5 separate regions of the Homo sapiens genome follow, and regions 2, 3, 4 and 5 are each linked to region 1. The links are contacts of gene promoters, found by promoter capture Hi-C in blood cells and fetal thymus (Javierre and others, 2016). All regions are on one chromosome and are shown on one strand. The core of a region is centred on a gene start or on the middle of the fragment in contact, and the rest is flanking DNA. Distances in the headings are between cores, read along the strand shown. Region 1 holds the start of RARA (retinoic acid receptor alpha). Region 2 overlaps KRT222 (keratin 222). Region 3 overlaps PSMD3 (proteasome 26S subunit, non-ATPase 3). Region 4 overlaps SMARCE1 (SWI/SNF related BAF chromatin remodeling complex subunit E1). Region 5 has its middle 25 kb from the start of CCR7.

Region 1 (5,082 bases), core at 859-3,358:
AGAGCTAGATCAGCACTTTATAACAAGGGTGCGCCTGCTCCCCGCACCGCCCCCCGCTCCTGACGCTCTCTGCTGCCGCCATCCACTGCTTGTCTCCTTCAGTTAAGATAATGAAGATGCTGAGAGATAAAATGTGTATTTAATAAGGGTGGGGGTAGGGAGGCGGAAAGGGGCAACCAGGGCCTTCCCTAGTTTGGGGCCTCGCCAAGACTTAAGCTGAAAGCAAAGCTAGAGTAAGACTTGGCCCCAGGGTGTGGGGGTTTCTGGGCCTCAATCCAGCTGACTTCACTGCCTGCTGTTTGCCCTAAATTCCCCCACCTCCACCCTCTCACCCCCACACTGCTTTCTTCTTGCTCCCAATGGGAAAAAGGACTCTTGCTTCAACTTTCTTTTCAGCTGGTAACTTGGCCTTTGGTGCGGTGCCCCCCACCCCAGTGTCAGCTGCAAGGTCGGGCTAGGGCAGCCCCCTCTAGCCTAGGCCTGTAGAAGCTGTGGGTTCACAGTGGGGGGTGAAAAAGCTGGAGTTAATGAAGACCAGCTGCTAGTCTGGGTTCTGCCTACAGCTAGCTGGAGGCCAGCCTTTGGTGGTGGTTGATGGGGGGGTGGGGTGACCTCCATCCATGGGCACAAGGATATCCTGTGGCAGCTAGGCTTGTGCTTCTCTCTGAGCTTAGTTTTATCCTTAGTTTATAAGAGAGTATCTGTTTCCTTCCCCTACTCCTCTCCTCCCCAAATAACACTCAGCTCTTATTGAACTTTATAACTGTAGTGGTGGCCCAGCTGAGATCTGAGGATCTCCAAACCCTTTTGTAAACACTCATTAACTGCCTGGGAAGAACGAAGAGCCCTGTTTAACAGCTGGGAGAGAACTGAGGCACATTAGGGTGAAAGGTTTGACCTAAACTCACCCCATGGACTCCACCCTGGGGCCTTCCATCCTTAGTCCAGCTCCTTTACTCAGTTCTTCCTGCAAGACAGAGGTGGAGGCATTGCTGGTGTCTTCTCCCCTTCTAGGGAGAGGCCATGCCCTCTCCCCTCAAGTCTGTCGCTGACTTCCTCTGGCCCTTCCCCTCATGACGTTTTCCCTGCTCTGCTGCTAGAGATATGTGCAACTCTCCTTGCAAAATGTTCTCAATCCACAACTTCAGAATTCTTATCCAGCTTTCTCTTGCCCATCTAGCCCACCAAACCTGAATTCTCCCTTTTGAGCTACTGAGAAGACTGGCTATACTAAACTGAATCAGTGACCTTGAAGTTGATCTGTTGTATTGAGGTCCCTCTGCCCCTATATTTATCCTAAATGGTATCTAGGAAAATATTCTCTCTTTAACTTGTTTATTCTGGTCATAAAGATTCGGGACATTACTGAGGGCTGGGTAGGGGCACTAGTTGACCTCTAGGTTCTACGTCCTGTTCTTCCACTGACAATTACCATTTCCAGTAATAGGTGTAACCCAAAGTTCTTTTTTGTTTTTTTCTCCTTCCCTAACCCCACCTGTTTATACTCTTGCCTATATATGTGTATTTGCAGACCCCACACATTCCCAGATACACATACATTGGTCCTACATGTTTCCCCTGTTTCCAGCTGCCATCTAAGTGAGCCTGCACTTTTTACATGCTGAAAATCTTTTTTCACCCTCTATGGCCTCCTAGGTCCTTGGGAATAATTGGGAGGGATGAAGGGACTCCTGCAGTCCATGAGGAAGAGGACAGAAGTGAGCGCCCAACCAAAATGAATGCTCCCTTTCCAAAATCTCTAGCTGAATGCCTTAGCAGGAGTGGCAGGGAAAGAGATCTTAACCCCACCTCCAGCACCAAAACCTAAATCCATCTGCTCAGGGCAGGCAGGAAGAAATGTCTATTTTCTCCTGTTTCAGGTCATCCTATCCTCGAGTTATCCATATGCTGTGTATTTGAGACAGGGAACTGTTCCTGTCCCCAGCCGATGACCAGACGCCCATCTTTCTTCCAGTGGGTTACTTCTCCCCCATCAGTCCTTCGCTCTGCGCCCGCTGACCCAGTCGGGGCTGGCTGGTGGAAGAGGGCGGGGAGAGCCTTCTAGTTGGCGAGTGGGCTTTAGGACCCAACGGGAACCCGTGCCTCTTGCAGCAGCCTAACCCAGAAGCAGGGGGGAATCCTGAATCGAGCTGAGAGGGCTTCCCCGGTTCTCCTGGGAACCCCATCGGCCCCCTGCCAGCACACACCTGAGCAGGTAGGACCATGCACACCCCTTCCCAATTCTTTGGCCGCCTTTGACCCCGGCCTCTGCTTCTGATCTAGCCATTTCCTTCTCGCCAGTTCTGGCTTTCCCCATCCCTCCTCTCCCGTCGCTCACTGTAGTCCTGGGAGGTGGGAGCCTGGGAACAGTGGGGTGTCTGAAAGCTCAGAGCCCTCTGCACCCTCCAGCACCCTTCCTGCATTTCTCCTGAGGCAGTTCCCGTTCTCTAGATAAGAGTGGGGAGTAGGGGGAAGGTCTGCCCAGGCCCCACGCCCTTGCACCCTCCTTTGCGGTATTGCCTAATACCCCTTCCCCCACCTCACCTAGACTGGAGAATTGGCAAGTGCTGAGGTAACAGAGAGAGGAGAGAGCCAGAGAGGGACCTGAGCTTTCCCAAGGGATTTCTTTCTTGCTTCCTCACCCAAAGAGCTCAGGACTTTGCCCCTACTCCCTACACACCTTGTAGGGGAACTAATGTCCCCTTCCAGGTTCATCTCACACTTGGGTGGCTAAAGGCTTTGCTAGAGGGTAGTGGAGGTTGTGAGCATTTTGGTGAGCTTTTCCTCTAGGAAAGTTCTTTCAGCTTAGAGCCCCCATCCATGTCAACATTTCAACACCTGCTGCAGAAGCCCCCCGACCCCACCTGTGTGTGTGTGTGTGTAGGGACAATGTGGTTGTAAGATCTAGAAGCTTTGGATAGAGGTGGCTGCATGCATTGAAGGGGAGGGATACCAGAGTGTGGCCCAGGCCAGAACAGGCTCAGTCCAGATGGCTAGGGAAGGGGGTGTGGACCAGATTGAGGAGGTCACCCAGCCTTGCCAGCTCCCTGAGCTTCTTGGCTTTCAGAATCTCAGGCTCCTGGTGTTTCTCTAGAGCTACAAGGTCCCCAAGCTTCTGCCCCGCTACAGGCTCTCTGGGAGAGGGCTAGATGGCACCTACTGTTTACAGTGGCTTATTTTTCTCTCCTGTGGTGGGCAGACAGGCCCTGCTCTCTGAAGATCTAGGGCGTGTCATTCTGGTTTGGTGGGTTTACAGGAAGGGTGTACACCTTGTCTGACTTACCATGTGTGAGTGTGTGTCTTGCTTCTGGGGGTAGTAGACTGGGGAGGGGGGTGATAGAAGAGACTGGTCACACTGAGGGAACTCCTCTAGCAATCAATGTATGATAGGAATGGGTGGCATGTCCCCATCTGGTAGCTCTGTCTAGGTGTGGGGTGTGCTCTGCATTCTTCCATGGCTCCCCGGGTCCCCTAAAGGTTGGTTTTAGAGGACAGGGTGGATAATGAATTGGCTTCAGACTTCGTTCTGGTCTTGATCCAACAAGGAAAGTAGAGATTCTGACTGTGAGCAGTGAACTAGGAATCAGAGGCCTGAACTGGAGACTTAGACTGGTTACTTAACTATATGTGTTTATATAGGTCTTCCCCTTTGCTAAGCCTTAGTTTCTCCATTTGTAAAAATGGCTATCAGTAGCAAGCAGGGACATTGCCACTAAAACCACAGAGACAATGTATCGTAAAGCTCACTGCAAACGGTAGTAATGGCTGGGGGAATCTAGGATGGAATCCTCTTCCTAAATCTAGGTCAATCTCTCCGCCTTTAGTTTTCTTCCCCCATCCTTTGCCCATCTGGGGGATGGAGGAACTAGGCAGGGCTATTGCCCCGGTTACTGCAGAATTCCCCTAATGCAGGTTGTAGCTGTTACCAGAGCACCTGTGGTCACAGAGTACAGATCTCTCCACCAGGCATTTCTTCCTCTGGGGCCCCATACTTGCTCCCCTGAGCCATGTCTCCACCTTCCTTCTGCCATCCCTGCTTGGCGTCCTTGTCTCTCTCTCCCCTGCCCAGTGGCCTCCTTGTCTGGCTCACTGGGCAGGAGCCCTAATCGGATTCGACAGCTGAGATATGTGTGGCGGCTAAGAGCAGGCAGGAGGGAAGCCAGTGGGAGGATGGTATGAGGACTGCCCCTGGCACTGCCCCGGCCTCCCAAGCACCACCTTGGGCCTGCTGATTTCTTACTTGGCTTGGCCCCAAGGAAGGGGTGCCAGAGGAAGCTCAGGAATGAACAGGCTGGGGTCTGGAGACTAGGAGAGGAGGAAACACACCAAGGTCCTCAGGACCTGGTTGATATTCGATGACCTTAATGTCAGTGTCACTGACTCTGACAAGGAGGAAAGGACAGCGATGAGCCAGGCTGACCCCCGCCACCCCATTCCCATAGCCCCACTTTCTTCTCTCTTCTTGTTCAGAAATGTTTCACTTTGCCTCATCTAGCCCCTTTGGCCAGTAGGTCACATCTGGGAGCTTCTGGGGGTGCCACATGTCTGCCTCAATCTGGGCTGTTTCCTCCCCTCCAAGATATTTCACTGTCTCTGGGCTGGGCGCCAGGACTCCTGGGTTTCCCTGCCTGTGGTGCAGGGCTCCCCTGCAGGGCTCCAGAGAGTCGCTTAGCTGGTTTCCTTCCTCCTTTGTGGGGAGGGCCTTCCCCTAGGGCTGGGAGGTGTCAGGAATCCCAGGTGGGACAGGGGTGGGGGCACAGTAGCCTCTGGCACTGTAGCACCCCAGCTTCTCCCTCCTAGCCTCTGACTCAGCTTGGGGGCAGCACATGCCCAGCCTGGCAGGCATGGCCTATTCTTGCCTCCAGGCTTCTCTCTTTACAGAAGCCTACATCTCCTGCTCTCATTTTTTAGTTTTTTTCCCCATGATATCTGCAGGTGGCTAGTGAAATCCCTGGTTTTGGGGAGCAAGGGACTAACATAATTGAGGCTGGGGCACTATTTTGTCTTCCCTCCAGTTGGGCCAGGATGAAGGAGACTGTCACAAACTTCCCCAAGCCAATTCCTTCTGCCCTCAAAAGACCA
Region 2 (5,082 bases), core at 988-3,487, 340 kb after region 1:
AATAATCTGTTCTCTAGTCCTGAAGAAACTAAAACTGAAGAGTGAATTATCCAGCAAGATGGACTTTACTTATTATGAGTTTTTTTCCCCCAAAGCAAACACCAGAACATATGCTCTTGCCTTTAGAAGGATATTTATGGTAACTACAGGACAGATGTTTGGAGTTGTGATTATTCCCAGAAAATTTGGGATACAGCATCAATATGACTATTTAAACTAAATATAACTATAAGGGTAGTTGGGAGCACTCACGTGGGACCAGTGGTTAACCCCAGAGATAATCTTAGGCCCAATTAAGACCTAACTTAGGCCTTAGTTTTCATTCTGGCAGCAAGATCCAGAAACGTGGCCTGCTTTCCCCTCTGACACTACTCATACTTTTTTGGGGTTCTTCTTTCCCCAAGACAGGGAAGCCAAAACTAAGTAAGCTAAGGTTCTAGTCCAGGTGTCTTTGAGTTCTTTCCATTGTTCTGTGGGAAGAAACGGGTGATGGAGACAGAGTTAGGGGTAGGACTGGGAAGAAAGGAGAAAAAAGGAGAAAATAAGACAGAATAAGGAAAAACCTGAAGTCCTTGGACACCCAGTAGTCCATGAATAGGCTCTAAGTGATCTATGAACCCTTTAAAATTATACTCAATTTTTATGGGCTTTTTTCCTGATAGGTTAATTCTTTCATGAGATTTTCAAAGAGGTGCGTGACTCAAGAAAGATTATGAACCAACCACTGAGCCATGGAGTTTGTAGTATGTTCTTTTGAAGCTTTTATAATGGATTTTTTTTTTCTTAAACAAGGGAAAGCGAGAGCAAAGCTTTACTTGACCCAAATAGCCTATGAAAGTCTGATTATAGACAACATGATGAAACAAACTAATTTTCTCAGCTGTTTCTGTGAGAGCAGAAGGAGTTATGGGTATTCTGTTTTCTGTAGCTGGAAATAGTTGTGAAATATTGAAGTTTAGCAGCTTTCCAGGACAGAGTGATCCACACTGTTTTACAGAATTTAAAAAGCACGGTTTGCTTTGAGAACCCTCTATGTTGCCCTCAAAATAACCTGGAGGATTTGGGACATGAGTGTTGCCCCATGGTGTGGAAAAGGATGAACGTTGAAAACAGGGTAGAGCTGGAGAATCTGGGTTGTGGGGTCTATTATCCACTGATAATATTGGGAGTCTAGGGCACAGTAGCCAAACGAGATTGTTGCAGGCCGTTATCTGGGCTGCCTCCTGTTTTTGTAATAAACCCTTATTTGGACACAAGCACCTTCATTTATTTACGTATTGTCTTTGGTTGCTTGTGGTTACAAGGGAAGGGTTGTGTAGTTGTTACAGGGATCCTATGGCCTGAAAAGCCTAAAATATTTGCTCTCTGGGCTTCGATGGAAAAGGTTGCCAAGCCTGGTCTAGAGTCTAAGCATGTGAGGGAAACTTGGAAAGCCTTGTACTGATTTTCACATATACCTTATTTTAGAGCCTTTATTTGTCATATGCCCACAAATATTGGCAATCTGTGTGTACATGCCGGCCATAACTTGTAAACATAGAACCAAATTCTGCCCTGTGGACAAACTTTCCTTTGATTTCATGTGTTGATAATTTGAGTAACGTGTATGCATATTGTTTAACTAAAATTTAATTTTGGCTCATGTATCATAATACATTTCCAATGGAAACTTTCAAATTAATGTAAGCATTTTTTGACTTCAGAGATTTTTTATTTTTGAGACAGGGTCTCACTCTGTTGCCTAAAGCTGGAGTGCAGTGGTGCAATCTAGGCTCACTGCAGTCTTGACCTCCTGGGTTCAGGCAATTCTCCCACCTCAGCTTCCTGAGTAGCTCAGACTACAGGTGCACACTACCACACTGGGTTAAGTTTTTGATTTTTTTTTTTTTTGGTAAAGACGAGGGCTCACTGTGTTGCCCAGGCTGGTCTCAAACTCCTGGGCTCAAGCGATCCTCCTGCCTCAGCCTCCCTAAGTGTTGAGATTACAGGTGTGAGCCACCATGCCCGGCCAACAGATTTTTAAAAAATTCTAAAAACGTAAGAAAACAAATTGAAGGACAAACTGAACTTTGCCAATACAAAGATCTCTAGCAAATGAATAAGAAATATGCTTATGTGCAGTATTAGTTGTATATTTCTGCATAACAAATTATCCCAAAATTTAGTGGCTCAAAATAATAATCACTTATTATCTTTAGAGAACTATTTTTTTTTTTTTTTGAGACACAGGGTCTCACTCTGTCACCCAGGCTGGAGTTCGGTGGCATGATCTTGGCTCACTGTATCTTCCACCTCCTGGGCTCAAACAATTCTTCCACTTCAGCATCCTGAATAGTTGGGACTACTGGTGTGTCACCATATTCGGTTAATTTAAAATTTTTTAATAGAGACGAGGCCTCACTGTATTGCCCAGGCTGGGCTTGAACTCCTGAGCTCTAGCAATCCTTCTGCCTAGGCCTCTCAAAGTGTTGGGATTATAGGTGTGAGCCACTGTGCCTGGCATAGAGAACATTTTTATACTTTAGACACTGTGCTTGGCATAGAGAACATTTTTTGTACTTTAAAAGCTATCATGACAGAACAGTTCAAATTGGGTGACTCACTGGGAAAGAATAACTGTTCTGGAAGCAATTGAAAAATTAAAAATAGTATCTTTACCTGTTGTGTTTTGAACTATTAATCATTGTCCGCTGTAATTTCCCCCACACATTCTTTAAAGACAATTTTCTTCCAAATAGTACTGTATATCTGAGCAGTGCTTTAACAAATATTTTTGCTTGTATATTATTTCAAACAACTGTAAGGTAGGTAGAGTAGGAATTATTATCCAGCTTTACCTTTTCCTTTGTTTTCAAGTGTAAAACTTGAGGCCTAGGAACTTAAAGTGGCCCCTCCTGGTTACATGGTTAGTGACAGAGCCAGGGTTAGGATCCTACAATTGTTAGTAACTGGAATTACTCTTTATTTTTGTATTTTTTTATGGAAGCATGCATTTGAAACATTTCAGAGAGATTAAAGAATATTAATTTCTACTCATGTGTAAAGCAAGGATAATATTATTCATTTTGTAGGATTGTTGTAAGGAAGGATTAGGGATTATTAGGGATAAACACAGTGCCTAGAGCTGAGTAAGTGCTTTGCAAATGGTGCTGCCATTATTAAACTTTTTCCAGAACTATGGGATTATGTGATTATTTTGATTTTTAAAAAACTAGAATAAAATATTGATATACCATTCTTAACTCTTTTGTAAAACAAGTTAAAAACCATTATCTATCTACTGTGATTGCAGTTTTCTTTATTCCCCAAATGAACTAACCATACTGGAGTAATTAGTTCTTTGTTTCACTTAACCATGCAGAGATATTTTTGAACTAAAAGGACTGCGTTCAAACTCACATACAATGCAGCTTTAGCATTCATATTTCAATTTTTTCAATTTTTAATTTTTATTTATTTTTACTTTTTAGAGAGATGGGGTCTTGCTATATTGCCCAGGCTGGCCTTGAACTCCTGGGCTCAAGCAGTCCTCCCACGTTGGCCTCCCAAAGTGCTGGGATTACAGGCATGAGCCACCGTGCCTGGCCATGTTTCATTTTTTTAATTGTAGTGGAATCATTACCTTGGTAAATTCATATCCCAATTTAAAATGCCCCAAAGCAAATAAAGCTTCATTATAAATTCAAATACTGTATTTTAAAATCTACATGTTATACACCCAATAGATGCATACTGGAATTGCTACAACAAGCAGTTACATTCATGACGACCAGTACTAAGTTTTTTTTAACACTGCAATAGATTATGCTAGATATATTGCTTTATTATGATCACTGTTGCTTAGTACAGTAACTTTAGTACAATAGCTTATATGATTGCATTTTTAAAGCTTTAATAAAGTTAGTAGCATTTAGCAATATCAAATGAAACATTTTTTATGTATAGGATGTATTTTAGGTCAGATGCTTATGCAAGAATAAGCACTTAACATGCTGTTATATCCTTGACAAAACAAAATCATCCCTTTTCACTAAATAGAATAAACCAGACTAAAAGGAATCTGAAGTAATTGAAAGAAAATTAAAAATTTTATATCCCTGTATTATGTTAAAGATTATTTAACATAATATTTTCCTGGTTAAAACATACATTTTTCTGGTTGAAATATATATATACATATATATAAATTATATATATGTATATATATAATAAGTATATATGGAGAGAGAGATAGAGGAGAAGAGAGAGGAGAGAGAGAGAGAAATATTTTAAAGGCTGTACTAAAATGCTAACGTAGCTATAGCCCTTAGATGATACTTTAGCTGGGAAAAAGTATGGTGAGTTGTACTCAGCTACTTTTTCTGCTTAGAAAAGAATTAAGAACTTATAAATTTCTAATGTCTTAAAACAGGTATTTATTAAGATCTTAAATATACCTGTATTAAACAAATTAGGTTATTTTAAAAACTTTGCAACAATACCTCACTTATTCACAAATATATTTTCTACCCATATTTATTACAATTTGAACGATTTAAAAACAAATCCTCTAAATACTCTTAGCTTAGATAACAATACCGTTATCTTAGTTCACATAAATGATTGCAAGAAATATTTATAATACTTCATATAGTATCTTATCTACGGCTTATAGCAAACAATCTAATCACATTTAGCTTTACAGTTGGAAAAACTGGGATGGTGGGTAACTGTTCTGATAACTATAGTAACTACCTTTTCAATTTGCTTTTCATGTTTTGTTTGCGCAGTTGGCCTTCTGATTTTTTTTCTTTTTTTGGTGGGGGATACAACCTTTAAAGTTCCTTGAGTAAAGTAAATCTTCCGGAAATCAGATACTTATTACAAAAAAAACCTTTTAGATATATGTAGATTAACTTAATTGTACTTATCTCAAATTAGCCCTGGGGTGTGTTCTATAGTTTGCTCAGAATTTCTCATGGAAAATAACTCATTTTTCTCAGTATACAAATGATTTATCTCAAAAAGAAGAATCCTCATTAGGTGAATAGTGAGTCCCCCTTTAAAAACTTGTTTATAATTGCTCTTTTTGAAAAATAGAAC
Region 3 (5,082 bases), core at 1,394-3,893, 320 kb before region 1:
TTTTTAATGTTACAAATTTGGTAGTTTAAAAATGTTTCCATTTGCAATTACTCAAATACTAATGGAATATAATTTTTGTCTGTTAGCTATTTTTCCTCTTTGTATGTTAGTTCGTCTCCATTTTTGTTTTGAAATTGTGGCAATATAATCATTATACCATTATATCTCTTAACCATTTATACAAGCTCTTTATAGAATAAAAATATGAATCTTTGATCACATTTGTTGAAAATATTTTTCTTTTGTATACACAGTTATCTAAAAGGGTTTTTTTAAATGAAGTCAAGCCCATTAATCTTTTGTGCGTATGTGATTTCTCCCATTGTTCACATTTAGAAAGTCTTTTCCATTAAGATCTGATAAATCTGGACTCCAGGTTTCTGTAGTTAATTGGTTTTTCTTTTCTTCCTCTGTCATCCTCTACCCCATCCTGCACCCCCACTGTATGTTTTTCTTGCCACTTGGTTATGTCTTAAAATCAGTGTGTGGAATCTGTAAATATTATGGACCCCATTAGGGCAGAAAAGGTGAGTGGTCGCATTTTGCCCCTCTGTGAGAGGCTCCTTAGAACTCCTTGCCTGGCCGGCACGGTGGCTCACGCCTATAATCCCAGCACTTTGGGAGGCCAAGGCGGGCAGATCACGAGGTCAGGAGATCGAGACCATCCTGGCTAACACGGTGAAACCCCGTCTCTACTAAAAATACAAAAAATTTAGCCAGGCGTGGTGGCGGGTGCCTGTAGTCCCAGCTACTCGGGAGGCTGAGGCAGGAGAATGGTGTGAACCCAGCAGGCAGAGCTTGCAGTGAGCCGAGATCACACCACTGCACTCCGGCCTGGGCGACAGAGTGAGACTCCGTCTCAAAAAAAAAAAAAAAAAAAAAAAGAACTCCTTGCCTGGAGTGGTGGGGGACTAGGAGTGAAAGTGACATCATTTTCTTCTCTGCTCTTCTTCAGACATCAAGGAGCACGTGAAACAGCTAGAGAAAGCGGTTTCAGGCAAGGAGCCGAGATTCGTGCTGCGGGCCCTGCGGATGCTGCCTTCCACATCACGCCGCCTCAACCACTATGTTCTGTATAAGGCTGTGCAGGGCTTCTTCACTTCAAATAATGCCACTCGAGACTTTTTGCTCCCCTTCCTGGAAGAGGTGAGTGAGTCAGGCCAACTTAAAGGGTGCAGGCCTGGCCTCAGATCCCCAGGAACAGCATTGTTTTCCATCCTAAAGTCCCATCTTATTACCTGTGGTAGCATGAGGAGAGAAGCCAAAGCAGTCCATTTGAATACTCATCTGCACAGTGACAAGGGAACCGTCCACTGCCCTGTAGTGTCATTCTTCAAAGTCAGGGGATCAGGACCCTCCCAGCCAAACTCATTTCCCACTACCCTGCAACCTGTACCCCCTACTCCAGTTGAGGTTGCGTTGGGTGACCTCTCTGTTGTTCTAGGAGAGAGAAGGTGCTGCTGCCTCTTTCTTCTGAAGCTTCACCATGGAGGAGGTAGAGAACAGTGGTTAGGAGGAGCACAGCTGTCAGGGCCAGGCACAGTGGCTCACACCTGTCTTCCCAGCACTTTGGGAGGCTGAGGCGGGCACAGTGGCTAACATCGTCATCCCAGCACTTTGGGAGGCTGAGGCGAGCAGATCGTTTGAGTCCAGCCTGGATTCAAACAATCTGCCCGCCCAGGAGTTTGAGACCAGCCTGGGCGACATGGTGAGACCCTGTCTCTGCAAAAAGTACAAAAATTAGCCAGGCATGGTGGCACCTGCCTGTAGTCCCAGCTACTCGGGAGGCTGAGGCAGGAGGATCACTTGAATGCAGGAGGTGGAGATTGCAGTGAACCAAGATTGCACCACTGCACTCTAGCCTAGGTGACAGGGTGACCCCCCTACCTCAAAACAAAACAAAAAAAACCCCACAGATTTTAGAGGTAGAGTTGAATTTGAATCCAAACCCTGACAGTTAGTACCTGTGGGACTTGGGCGAGTGACTTCATTTTGCTGTGCCTCGTTTTCTTCATTTGTTAAACGTGATGAACGGATTGGGAAGCGGGCAGTATAAAGCTCCTAGAGCAGTGCCTGGTACGTAGTGAATGCAGACGAAGTCAGTTTGGTGGTGGTGGTGGCGCCTCCGTGCCAGGAGAGACCTCTCCTTATCCTCTGTAGCTGTAAACTCTCCCTCATGATTCATGGCATGGGCCAGGTCTCAGCCTTCTCCAATTCCACTGACCTTCCAGCACCTGCATTTCCTTAAAATCCTGTATACTCAGTCAGCTCCGTGGATGGGGAAACTCAGAACATCCCTGGAGGCAGGGCAGTGAAGAGTTTCTTGTCTGGGAAAGGGGAAAAGCGTACTGTTCCCCCAACTCCACCTTGAATATTTTCTGACCTTCACATCGCTAAACTCACGAAACGTGATTATTTTGGGGGTGACTGTAACACATTATTTTTTCCAGTGTCAGTGACAACATAGGAAAATATGTTTTGTTTATATGTTGACTTTCCCTAAATTTTCTTTGTTCCCACAAGAAACCATTTTTTGGTCTCATTATTCTGATTTCATCTCTAGAATTATTTCGTTCAGCCCTGTCCAGTAGTATTTGCAGTGGATCCAGGTGTGGTGGTTTAATGTCTCCACTTAGGTTGTAGCCTCTTTGAAGGTTCCTTACATCGTCCTTTGTCTCCATTATGTTGTGTAAAGAAATTTTTTGTTCTCCTGTAACACTTTATTGTGTTTATTAATATTATATTGCCAGCCTCCTTGACTTGTTTTGTTTTTTTGAGATGGGGTCTTGCTCTGTCACCCAGGCTGAAGCACGGTGGCACACTTATGGCCCAGTGCAGGCTCAGACTCCTGGTATCAAGCAGTCCTCCTGCCTCAGCCTCCTGAGTAGCTGGGAATACAGGTGCATGCCACCATGCCTGGCTAGTTCTTTTTTATTTTTTGAGAGATGGGGTCTCACTGTGTTGCCCAGACTGGTCTCAAATTCCTGGCCTCAAGCATTCTCCTGCCTCAGCCTTCCAGGTAGCTGGCACTACCGGCGTGAGCCACCACACCCAGCTCCTCCTTGATTTCTTTGGGAAAGACTGTAATCTTTATTTTTTTATCCCTAGCACCTAACAAAATCTTGGCACATGGTAGACACTCAATAAATATGTTGAAATACATAGTGGATGCTCAATAAATTCTTGGTTACTTGATCAGACTGAGCTTTTCCATGGTAACTTCTGTCCTCTCCTAGCCCATGGACACAGAGGCTGATTTACAGTTCCGTCCCCGCACGGGAAAAGCTGCGTCGACACCCCTCCTGCCTGAAGTGGAAGCCTATCTCCAACTCCTCGTGGTCATCTTCATGATGAACAGCAAGCGCTACAAAGAGGTATCCAGGATGCAGTGAGAGCGATTCATAAGCCCCAAGTGATGCAAGGGGTTTGGCGGGGAGATGGTCCCTGGTGAAGAAATGGAAATAATCATTGATTCTTAAGAACTGTCCCCCACACTCTTTCCCCATAGAGGTATGCGTTTGATCCCACATCCCAGGAGAACCCACTCTTGCTCTGGGCACTGTGGGACAGGGCTTGCAGTGGTCATGCTGTACCGGTCTGTGGGGGATACCAGCGTAGTACATTCTTGGGGAAAAGTAGGGGCATTTGGAGACAGAAAGACCTGGGTTCCAATCCCAGCCATACCCTAGGCAAATTAATTTCTCCCAGCTATATGTAAGATGGGGATAATAGTGCCTACCTTACAAGATGGTTAGCGTTACATAAAATAATTTGTTTAGAAATACTTAGCGCAATGATCTGCATATAGTAAGCTTTCGTGATATTTTCATAAATGGTAGCTGTTATTATGGACTAATAGCTCCATTTGCAAACTGCACTTCTACCACTCCCCCAGCTAGGGCCAGCTTCTTTGTTCATCATAGCCACTGTCACAGGAGCACACTCAGGAAGTAAGTCGCACTCCTTAATTCCCTGGTTTGTTTCCTTTCCTTACCACACTATTTTTGGTTGTTGTTTGGTTGGGGGTTTTTTTGAGATTGGGTCTTGCTTTGTTGCCCATGCTGGAGGGCAGTGGTGTGATCACAGTTCACTTGACCTCCCCGGCTTAAGTGATCCTTCCACCTCAGCTTCTTGGGTAGCTGGGACTACAGGCATGTGCCACCACGCCCAGCTAATCTTTGCATTTTTTTTGTAGAGACAGGATTTCACCTTCTTGCCAAGCTGGTCTCCAACCCCTGGGCTCAAGTGATTTCCTGGGCTCAGCCTCCCAAAGTGTTAGGGTTACAGGCATGAGCCACTGCGCCTGGCCCACTGTTTTGTTTTTACTGGAGATGGGGTCTTGCTATGTTAACCAAGCTGGTCTTGAACTCCTGGGCTCAGGTAGTCCTCCCGCCTCAGCCTCTCATGTAGCTGGGATTACAGGCACGTGCCACTGTACTTGGCTGTTTGTTTTTGAGATATAATTCACCCCTTTAAAGTGTACTACAGGCCAGGTATGGTGGCTCACGCCTGTAATCCCAGCACCTTGGGAGGCCAAGGCAGGCAGATCATGAGGTCAGACAATCAAGACCATCCTGGCCAACATGGTGAAACCCTGTCTTTACTAAAAATACAAAAAATTAGCCGGGCGTGGTGGTGTGTGCCTGTAGACCCAGCTACTCAGAAGGCTGAGGCAGGGGAATTGCTTGAACCAGGGAGGCGGAGGTTGTGGTGAGCCGGGATTGTGCCACTGCACTCCAGCCTGGTGACAGAGCGAGACTCCGTCAAACAAATAAATAAAGTATACTACAATTGAGTGGGTTTTAGTATATTCCCAAAGTTGTATATCCACCCCTAATTCCAGAACATTTTCATCACCCCACAAAGAAACACCATACGTATTAGTAGTCACTTTTCATTTTCCCCTTACCCAGCCCCTGGCCGCTACTAATCTGCCCTGTCTCTATTGAGGATTTACTTACTCTGGACATTTCATGTAAATGGAATTACACACCGTGTGCCCTTGGTTTCTGGCTTTTTTCACTTAGCATCATGTTTTCAAGGTTGACCCATGTTGTAGTGTGTGTCAGTACTTCCTTCCTT
Region 4 (5,082 bases), core at 646-3,145, 320 kb after region 1:
CTTGTTTTGCTTAACTTTTAAAAATATGTCACTAGTAGAAAATATAAAATTTCACGTGACTTGCATTTTATTTCTGTTGGACAGTGAATGAGAGTTAGTCTGTAGTGCTATGGATTAAACGAGGAGAAAGCAGTTGTAGAAATAATATAAGGTTGGTCTTTTAGACACTTTGTTTAAAGTCATGCTGGGCTGTTTCCTGTAAGAAATTAAAAGCATGAGGTTTTAGCTCTAATAGTCTCAAACGATTTTCTTCAGGTTTTTTCCTTGAACTAGGACAGAATCTGAGTAAAGACCTGCAAACCTTAAGCATAAGACATGCCCCATTCATAGATGCCAAAACAGAGGCAAAGGACTGAGTGTTTGTCTAGTTGCAAAATTAGCAAAAATCAGTTATTTTAATTTTCAAGCTCGTTTTAACCACAAAAATGTGCTCATGCTCCAAATTCATTACAATAAAAAACACATTCATACAAAACAGAAAGAGACTCAGATACTGAAACTTAAAATATGACCATTTCAAATGTTAATCTGCTGGATTAAATTTTGCAGAAATACCTGGTAAAGATATCTATATTCCATTACATGTTTTCCAGATGGTTGTCATCTGAGTACCAAGTATGACTACTGTCCCTCCCACTTCTTGCAACGATGCTCCAGGAAGCCTTTGGTTTTGTTTTCCATAACTACTTTTAGCTTAGTCCTGTTTACACAGTGTACTAGGCAGTGTTAAAACAGTGCCATGAGGTAAGGTGATCTCAAAATTACAAGTGACGATCAATGTAATCAGTACTTTATGTAAGTTTTATTTATACAAGTTATTATTATTATTTTTTACCTTGAGGGATGCTTTTAATCAGGAAAATCAGTATACCTAGAAGTAAGGGTTTTTCTAGGACAGAGCTGGCAATTTTTTTCTGTAAAGAGCCAGATAGAAAATATTTTAGACTTCGCAGGCCAGGCAGTTGTTGTTGCAACTACTCAACTATACTGTTTTATCCCCAAAGCAGCCACAGACAGTATGTAAACAAACAAGTGTGGCTGTGTTCCAGTTTTATTTACAAAAACAAGTGGTGGGCAGGATTGGCTTACAGGTATTACTTTGCAGAATGCTGTCCTAGGACACCAAAGACAATTAATCTTAACGGTAATAACCACATCTTGATAAATAATGTAAGCATTTAAAGGTTAAAATACTGAATGTCAATATCATGTCAAATTTAGTACTGGGAATCACCCTCAGTGGCAGGTACCAGAATACTTGCACTTAGAAAGAAAAACCTAAATTAAAGACAGCCGTACAAAGTCTTGGCACTGCCTCTGCGTTTGTTGCTAGTGGGTTACCTGTCTCCATCGGAATGTTCTCGTCGTCTTTCTTCTCCTCGCCTTTGTTAGCTGCTTGTTCTTCCTCAGGAACGATGCTGCTCTGACTGCGCTCAGCTTGCTCTGCGGCCTCCTTCTCCCTTTCCTCCTGCCTTTTGCGGGCCTGTTCCTCTGCCTGTGCAATCTCAGCTGCAATTTTCTCCATATCCACTTCTACTTTCAGACCGCACAACTAATCAGAAAAAAACAGAACTCCGTAATGTTTTTTCCTTATAATTTTTGAGCCAGATATATTCTTTCAAAAGTTGGTTTTCTTGCCTATAAACTATATATATATATCTATACACCTGTATGTGTGTGTGTGTGTGCCAAAAAAATGTGGTTCTAGGTCTTCTCTGAAACTCTTGGGTCTACAAGAAAAAACAGCAGCTCTAGCAGTTGTATAATATAGGATATTCCAGAGCAGCTGGTGAGGCAAAATAGTGAAAGTTCTGGGGTATACATAAGGCTTCCGTTTTACATTTTGGGCTACCAACTAGATTTCCTTGTCTGAATGCAAAGTGCAAATTATAAATTACATTTAATGACGACATTTGATGAATAAATCACAATAAAATGAAAGTAATTAATGACTGTATGGGAGTTTAACATATCAGAGGGCTCTAGCATTTACAGGCCTAGAAGATATGTGTATACTCTATGATATTTCAAATTTATTGCAATTTTGCCAGAGAATGGGAACAATCTTATAAAAAAAGGATCCTACAGGTTTATAATAAAGTTAGCCCTGTTTCAAAGTGAACAACATTCAATAAAAACACTATTTTGGAAAAAAGAATGAGGAAAAATAAAGTAACAGGTATAGTGATAAAAGTATAGTTAACATATTAAACAGATACCCTTTTAAGTTCATTGTTAAATGAATCTGTGCTTTCCAGGAATTTCCTCTTCTTCTCCTGGTGTCGTTCCTCTATTTGAAGAAGTTCAGCTTCTAGTTTTCGCTGCAAGACAGGATCAGGCTTCATAATTGTGTCTCATTTTTTAATGGTCCATACTTTCAAACAGTGTACCAAATAATGTTTTGAACTTTAGATCATTTATCACATGAGTCTAGCTAAGATTTAAAAAATACAAAATGCAGCACAAAGAAATGATTATGATCAATAGGTAAATGTTAAAGAATACTGTTTCAGGCCTGAGCAATTCCTTGGGAAAAAATATTTAGCATAGCAGTAAAGATTGATAGGATGCCTCAAAATTCTTAAGTTCACACGTATTTCTTAACGAATATACTTTCCATTACAAGGTTCTATATTATAGTTTTTAATGACAAACTTATTAAACATCTGGGAAAGGTCCACTTCCTTAAACCTCTTCTCCAAATCAGGAACAGGTTAGATTGACATATTTAACAGGTAGATTTAGGCATGGTGTAGGAATCATATCACCTGGGATTTGTGGTATAGGCACATCTTATTGAAATGAATGTTTTATGACTTTACCTGATGAACCATTAAGGACTGGACCTGCCGTTTGAGGACCTGCATTCTAGCTGTTGTGACAACTGACCGAACGTCTGGCACCACACTCTCACTAAGAATTTCACTGATGAGGCGGTGGTTTCTCTGGAAACGGGCGGTGGCTGTATGCTTCATTGAAAAGCCATCATCATAATCTGGAGTGAACAAATTGTTCTGGAAATCAGGTCACCAGTAACCATAAAAAGGAGTGTAACAATGTTAACACTTAATTACCAACGAACTATGGCCCTCACTGGCCTAACAAGTGGACCTGCCCAGCGTCATGGGAGCACTGGGGCAGTTACTTGATAAAAACCATACAGAGGACGTAATGTGTTCATTGGCCAAGGTAGTAATTTATCTCACAGTCTTTAAGTGATAATGTTGTGTCTGAGAAGGATTTGGCTAAAACATAAACGAGATACAACATGTCTCTTCTGGCTTCGGAATCAATGTGAAGGCTGTATGTGATGGCAGTAATTGAAATTCTGCCCAATGTTTCACTCTCTTGGTAGTAACTTAAGGCATTTAACAACTAATGAACAACATATGAACTGGGCAGTGACTTTGTCACTTGTAGCACTTTAAAAATGAATGAAAATGCCCATTTGTAAAATTATGACAGCAGAGAATACATCACCTCTAACAATATTCAGTTTCCCAGGCCCTCAAGTAATTTTATAGAAGAAAAATAAATGTCTGATTCCAAATTTAATTTTTGTCAGTTTACACTTAGCCAGCTGTTGTCAGTGTGTAATGGTATGACCCAAGTTCATACAGTATGGGTCTGGTTTATATGCTTCTGTTTCGTTTTGAGACAGAATCTCCCTCTTGTTACCCAGGCTGGAGTACAGTGGCCCAGTCTCAGCTCACTGCAACCTCCACCTGCCAGGTTCAAGTGATTCTTGTGCCTCGGCCTCCCAAGTAGCAGGAATTACAGGCGCATGACACCACGCCCGGCCAATTTTTGTATTTTTAGTAGAGATGGGATTTCACCATGTTGGCTAGGGTGGTCTTGAACTCCTGACCCCATGTGATCTGCCCATCCTGGCCTCCCAAAGCGCTGGGATTACAGGTGTGAGCCACTGCACACACACTACAGGCTTATTTTTAATAGCTATCTAGTGTTTCCTTAATCTCAGTCTTTGCTCTATCACCTTCATAGTTTTTCATATATCTACTAACAGCCTGTACTATCGTTTACTTAATATTTTTCTTTAAACTAACTCACTTAAAAAAAAAAAGAGCTTTCTCTTTAGTAATACATATTAAAACAAACGCTCCTCTCTGAACCACTTAATCACCTCAGTGACCCACCAGACAGGGAGGAACCACACTTAAGAAAACCTTGTTACAGGGGAAACCCTGTTACAGAGGCCTATGTTGCGCTGCTATGTCAGTTTAGCACCTCCCTTATTGTCTGGCACTTAAGTAGTTCCTAAAATTCTCATTATTATAAATACTACAGCTAAAAACTGTTGTTTTTGTAAAAAGTTAAAAAAATTACTTTTGTTTCCTTTTGAGTAATTTCTTTAGGAAATAAACTTCTGAAATTAAAACTACTGGGTAAGATACAGTTTTTTTAAAACTCTGTAACCTTTCTACTTTTTAAGAGTTTTTCACCTTTAGGGTTATATATGGTACATCTGTGCTACATCTGTCTAAGTTATCTGTTTTTGTTGTTAGCTTTTGTTTTCTTCTTTCATTTATATGGCCCCAGTGTTGACCACAGATGGGGACATAAGGTCTAAGCAATTTGGGCTTGTTCTTCTTTGCATGTTAGTCGTCTGCTTCCTTTTTTGGGGGAATGGCTTCTCTGGTTATGATCTAATTGAACAGCTATTTATCCTATGATGAAGAGGCTCTCACTGAATAAAAGCCTTCATTGTCTTGTGTGGATAATTGCACATGCCCTCTTTTTTTTTTCTTTTTTTTGAGACTGGTTATTGCCCTGTCATCCAGGATGGAGGACAGTGGCATGATCATAGCTCACTGCAGCCTTGAACTCCTGGGCTCAACTGATCCTCCTACCTCAGCCTCAGCTGGAGTAGCTGGGACTACAGGCACAAGCCGCCATGCCCAGCTAATTTTTAAGTATCCTGTAGAGATAAGGTCTTGCTGTGTTGCCCAGGCTGGTCTCAAACTCTTGGCCACAAACGATCCTCCTGCTTCAGTTTCCCAAAGTATTGGGATTACAGGCGTGAGCCATGGCGCCTGGCAATGTCTATCTTTTGATAGTCCT
Region 5 (5,082 bases), core at 877-3,376, 280 kb after region 1:
TTGGATTTCCTTGCATTGGACTTCGCCTTTCTCTGGTCCCTTCCTGATTAGCTTAATGACTAACCTCCTGAATTCTTTTTCAGGCAAATCAGGGATTTCTTCTTGGCTTGGACCCATTGCTGGTGGACTAGTGTGATTTTTGGGGGGTGTCGATGAACCTTGTTTTGTCGCATTACTGGGGTTGGTTGTCTGGTTCCTTCTCATTTGGGTAGCCTCTATCAGAGGGAAGGTCTAGGGCTGTTGAAGGCTGTTGTTCAGATTTTTTTGTCCCACAGGGTGTTCCCTTGATGTAGTACTTTCCCCCTTTTCCTGTGGATGTGGCTTCCTGTAAGCCAAACTGCAGTGATTGTCTCTCTTCCGGGTCTAGCCACTCAGCAAGTCTACCTGGCTCTGGGCTGGTACTGGGGATTTCTGCACAGAGTCCTGTGATGTGAACTGTCTCTGGGTCTCTCAGCCGTGGATACCAGTACCTGTTCTGGTGGAGGTGGCAGGCTGTGCAATGGACTCCATGAGGGTTCTTAGCTTTGGTGGTTTAATGCTCTATTTTTGTGCTGGTTGGCCTCCTGCTAGGAGGTGGCACTTTCCAGAAAGCATCAACTGTAGTAGTGTGGAGAGGGACTGGCGGTAGGCGGGGCCCTATAACTTCCAAGATTATATGTCTTTTGTCTTCCATTAACTACCAGGGTGGACAGGGAAGAACCATTGGGTGGGGGAGAGGCTAGGCATGTCTGAGCTCAGACTCTCCTTGGGTGGGTCTTGCTGTGGCTGCTGTAGGGGATGAGGGTGACATTCCCAGGTCACTAGAGTTATGTACCTAGGAGGATTATGGCTGCCTCTGCTGAGTCATGCAGGTTGTCAGGGAAGTGGGGGAAAGCCAGCAGTCACAGGCCTCACCCAGGTCCCATGCAAACCCAAGTGCTCACTCCCACCGTGCCTCCCCCTACAGCACCGAGTCTGTTTCCAGGTGAAGGGCGAGATGGGCTTGAAAACTTGCCTGAGGCTTTTTACCTCCCAGAGTATTTGGGTTGTCTCCTGGGTCTTGCAGGAGCAGTCCGCTTCCTTCAGAGGGTTTGTGGGTCCTCTCAGGGTGGCTGGTTTGTTCTTGCAGTTGATCTGGAGCTAAAATTCACAATGCAAACCTCCACATGGCTGCTCTGTCCAGAGCTGCAATCTAGTCCTGCCTCCCATCCGCCATGATTCCCACTTGGATTGAAATTGTCCATTTTAAACATGATTAGAAAGCCCAGGTATCTTGATGCTCATTGATCCTGAGACCATCTGTTGCAGTGAAAACGTGTGTGGGGTTCCAGTCTTGGCTCTGCCAGCCAAATTTCCATGAGGCCCTTTTCTCCTGGTTCCTTATCTGGGGATTGAACCAGATGATCTTGTCTGTCCTCTCTGGTCTCACATTTGGGGATTCCATTGATCATCTCCTAGTGGGACTGTGGCCTCAGAGAAGCTTAGGTTATGCACATTTAGGAAATCCCAGTAGAGCTTTGGTCAGAAAGAAAAGATGGGTGAAAGGTGGAGTCCTGAAACCCTCCTGTTCCTCCCCATACAACTGTTTAAGGAGACCATATCTATTTCATCCTCCTCTTGTGCTTTTAATGGCATTCAAAGCCCTTCTCTATCTGGCCCAGTTGACATCACTGACCTCAATCTCTCTACTCCCCCACTGTAGCTACTTTGTGCTCCAGCCATTCCGAGTGACCTGTGGGTTCCCTAAAAGCATTGTGCACTTTCATTTTTCTGGGATTTTCCACATGCTCTTCTGTCAGGCTAAGGTGGCTCCAGCTCCTTCTCTCCCGTGTCACACTCTAACTCATTATTCAAGACCCAGCTCAAATACTCTCACCTCCTGAAGAATTCTTGAAGTCCCTGAACCCACAAATGCTGTTCACACTGCTAGGATAGCACCTCTTAGTCAAATTTGTATCATGGGCATGCATGCATTTTTCTCCCTCTATCAGCTTACCATTACGTGGCATCTTATTTATTTCTTACATATTTAACACAGTACCTGGCATATTCTTGGTGCTCAGCCAAAGAGTGCTAAGTTAAAATGAAGGATATTTCTGTTGATTTGACCCCAAACAGGCTACACTCAGAGTGCATAAAATAGTGGCCACTCTTTGAGTTGAGTTGGATCTGATAATTAATTGGTTTAGATCCAGTTAGAGGCCTTTTATGTCTGCCTGGGTTAGACAGAAACTGATAGTAAATGGAAATATTGCAAGGGGTGTAAATTTCAGCTTTTGGAAATTTGCAAGGATTTTTATATTCTACCTTCTTTATTTCTTTTTCCCTTGTGTGCTTAGGTAGGGAAAAATCATTGGCTAGGTTGATCAAGGGGATCCTCAAATTTCAGTATCAGTCTTAGCTTTCATGTAATGCTCATGAGGTCCTTGCTGTGGGGAAGTTCTCAGGCTGCGCAAGGCACCACAGCCCAGGATTCAGGGAGCTCCCAGAGTGATAGGCAGGCCACCAATGTCAACGCTCTTACATACTGTTTGAGGATTAACTGGAGCTAATACTTATTCAGCACCTACTGTATACCAGACCCTGAATCACCTCATTTAATCTCACAACAACCCTGCAAGTTAAGCAGCTGTGATGTCCATTCTACAGATAAGAAAATGGAGACTCAGAGAAGTTAAGAACTTCCCCAAAGGACGCTCATAGCTAGTTGCAGCAAACCAGGAATGGAACTCCCCCATCCATCCTCTTTCCCCCATACCACACTAGTTGATAAGCAGGAATGCAACTTCACAACCACTGAAAGCCCTGTTAAATTAAGCTTAGCCTAAATCTGCCTTCTTACATATTCTAAGTCCAGCCTAAAGGTTTCTCCATACATAGTGAACTACAACTTAACTGGATGTGTGAACAGACTGTAACCTACTCCTGTGCAAGTCACTGAGTTTTGGCCAACCAAGGTTGCCAACTGTACAGACTATGTTCAAATAAGGCAATGCTAAGATAAACAATCCTGCTGTTTCTATGCCTCACTTCCATTTTCTGTAGGTCACTTTCCATTTTCTGTCCATAAACCTTCTTCTACCCCATGGCCATGCTAGAGTCTCTCTGAGCCTACTCTGGCTCAAGAGGCTTCCTGATTTGCAAACCGTTCATTGCTCAAACTGTTAAATTTAATTTGTCTAAGGTTTTTCTTTCTTCTTCTTCTTTTTTTTTTAGATGGAGTTTCACTCTTGTTGCCCAGGCTGGAGTGCAATGGCACGACCTCAGCTCACTGCAGCCTCCGCCTCCCGGGTTCAAGTGATTCTCCTGCCTCAGCATCCCAAGTAGCTGGGATTACAGGCATATGCCACCATGCCTGGCTAATTTTTGTATTTTTAGTAGAGATGGGCTTTCACCATGTTGGCCAGGCTGGTCTCGAACTCCTGACCTCAGGTGATCCACCCGCCTCGGCCCCCCAAAGTGTTGGGATTACACTTTGAGCCACTGCGCCCGGCCAGTTTCTCTTTTAACAGATGCTGTCAGAAGTAGGATCCAAGGCCGGGCGCGGTGGCTCATGCCTGTAATCCCAGCACTTTGGGAGGCCGAAGTGGGTGGATCACTTGAGGTCAGGAGTTCGAGACCAGCTTGGCCGACATAGTGAAATCCCGTCTCTACTAAAAACACAAAAATTAGCCAGGCATGGTGGCATATGCCTGTAATCCCAGCTACTTGGGAGGTTGAGGCAGGATAATCACTTGAACCTGAGAGGCGGAGGTTGCAGTGAGCTGAGATCACGCCATTGCACTCCAGCCTGGGTGGGTAACAAGAGTGAAACCCCGTCTCAAAAAAAAAAAAAAAAGATTGAGTCTCCTCTCTTATCAAAGAGTAAAGGTTTTTGCTTTTAAAAATCTCTTATCACTTTGGCTAAATGAATGATTTTTTTTTATGGTGACCTGTGATCCTATTTTGGTCAATTGTCTGAATCTTTTGACATACTTGACAGGCTTCCTGAAAATCAAATTTCAACTTCAAAATTAAGTGGTTTGTTTTTTTTTGTTGTTTACCTGTACATTTGGAATGCTACAGAGGGCTCCTGCAGCATCCAAAAGAGAGATAAGTAAGATTACGTGATATATTAAATTACAGGAAGCACTGTCAAATAAGAAATAATGTTTAATCTTCTTCAAGTTGTATTTTTATAAATATTTTATTAATATATGTTCCAAAATTGTATGGGATTCCTAAAATTCTGATATGTCTGGATATATGCTATCAATTATAACTATGGTTATGTTACATAATTTTAGGCCACAAAAATAACCAAATGTCCTTGTCAATTGTATCTTTATGACCATTTTAAATCATTTCCACAGTTAATTCCTGCATTTAGATGCAGTTTCTGAAAACTCTTCACAAGCAAGCAAAATCCTAGAGTAATGTGTCTTCAAAGAGGTTCATACAATGATGGAAAGGACTCTGACAAGCACTCTTGAATACAGGTTTAGGATCCTATCATTTGGACTGGCTAAGAATTCCCAGAACTCTAATAAAAGGACTGACTGATTTATAAAACTGCTAACCCAAGTAGGGCAAGAATTAATTGACAACCAAAAAAATACTTTGACAGATTTTCATGCTAAAATCAGCTAGCACTAAAATTATTTAGATATATAATTTAAATGAACTCCCTGGTCCAAGTCAAATTACCCATGAAAACCATCTAATAAACAGTGCTATGCACCTAAATTGGAGAAACAAAATTGGTATTTAAGATGTAAGTCCAGTATAAGCATAGACTCATGGAGAACCTGGAAGGCTTCCTGGTCCTTCCTGAGTCCTTCAAGTTCCCATTATTAGAAGCTCTGAATTTCAAGACTTATCATAAAACAGATAAAATGATCCAAATTAAAAATATATATATATTGGTGTGGTGACTGTTATGAATTGCTAAAATAGTTTATGATCAATATTTGATTTGTCAAACCCATAATTCTTGGAAGACAATAAAAACTTCAGGTACATTTCTGTTATCTGATGGGCCATTTAAACACTTATAGGGGGATTTGGCTGGGCTCAGTGGCTCATGCTTGTAATCCCAGCACTTTGGGAGCCCAAGGAGGGCGA

Evidence for each region. Contacts are between HindIII fragments. The CHiCAGO score rates a contact against its expected background, and 5 or more counts as called.
Region 2: a fragment that was not itself captured here is called in contact with the fragment with the promoter of RARA in region 1 in 1 of 17 cell types (total CD8 T cells); the score reaches 5.3 in total CD8 T cells.
Region 3: a contact is called between a fragment that was not itself captured here and the fragment with the promoter of RARA in region 1, in 1 of 17 cell types (monocytes). The highest score is 5.2, in monocytes.
Region 4: a fragment that was not itself captured here is called in contact with the fragment with the promoter of RARA in region 1 in 2 of 17 cell types (activated CD4 T cells and total CD8 T cells); the score reaches 6.1 in activated CD4 T cells.
Region 5: a contact is called between a fragment that was not itself captured here and the fragment with the promoter of RARA in region 1, in 3 of 17 cell types (total CD8 T cells, activated CD4 T cells and naive CD8 T cells). The highest score is 6.3, in total CD8 T cells.

The regions. Positions count from the first base shown.
Region 1 is chr17:40,307,072-40,312,153 of GRCh38, forward strand. It overlaps RARA (retinoic acid receptor alpha), which reads left to right and starts at 2,109. Exons shown (of 9, transcript NM_000964.4): 1 at 2,109-2,215. RefSeq lists enhancers at 1,536-2,421, 1,801-1,970, 1,981-2,110, 2,422-3,305, 4,895-5,082. The HindIII fragment of the contact is 5,393 bases long and covers 1-2,909 here.
Region 2 is chr17:40,650,863-40,655,944 of GRCh38, forward strand. It overlaps KRT222 (keratin 222), which reads right to left. Exons shown (of 6, transcript NM_152349.3): 6 at 3,803-5,082. Among named protein-coding and RNA genes, the nearest start is that of SMARCE1, 5.6 kb to the left of the region's middle. The HindIII fragment of the contact is 2,860 bases long and covers 808-3,667 here.
Region 3 is chr17:39,983,339-39,988,420 of GRCh38, forward strand. PSMD3 (proteasome 26S subunit, non-ATPase 3) reads left to right here. Exons shown (of 12, transcript NM_002809.4): 2 at 956-1,146; 3 at 3,237-3,374. It overlaps LOC124904000 (a long non-coding RNA gene), which reads right to left. Exons shown (of 3, transcript XR_007065751.1): 3 at 3,360-3,444. Among named protein-coding and RNA genes, the nearest start is that of PSMD3, 5.1 kb to the left of the region's middle. The HindIII fragment of the contact is 2,333 bases long and covers 1,478-3,810 here.
Region 4 is chr17:40,629,373-40,634,454 of GRCh38, forward strand. SMARCE1 (SWI/SNF related BAF chromatin remodeling complex subunit E1) reads right to left here. Exons shown (of 11, transcript NM_003079.5): 8 at 2,823-2,995; 9 at 2,220-2,321; 10 at 1,342-1,552. Among named protein-coding and RNA genes, the nearest start is that of SMARCE1, 16 kb to the right of the region's middle. The HindIII fragment of the contact is 6,923 bases long and covers 1-5,082 here.
Region 5 is chr17:40,588,354-40,593,435 of GRCh38, forward strand. No RefSeq gene overlaps it. Among named protein-coding and RNA genes, the nearest start is that of CCR7, 25 kb to the left of the region's middle. RefSeq lists an enhancer at 269-1,468. The HindIII fragment of the contact is 1,338 bases long and covers 1,458-2,795 here.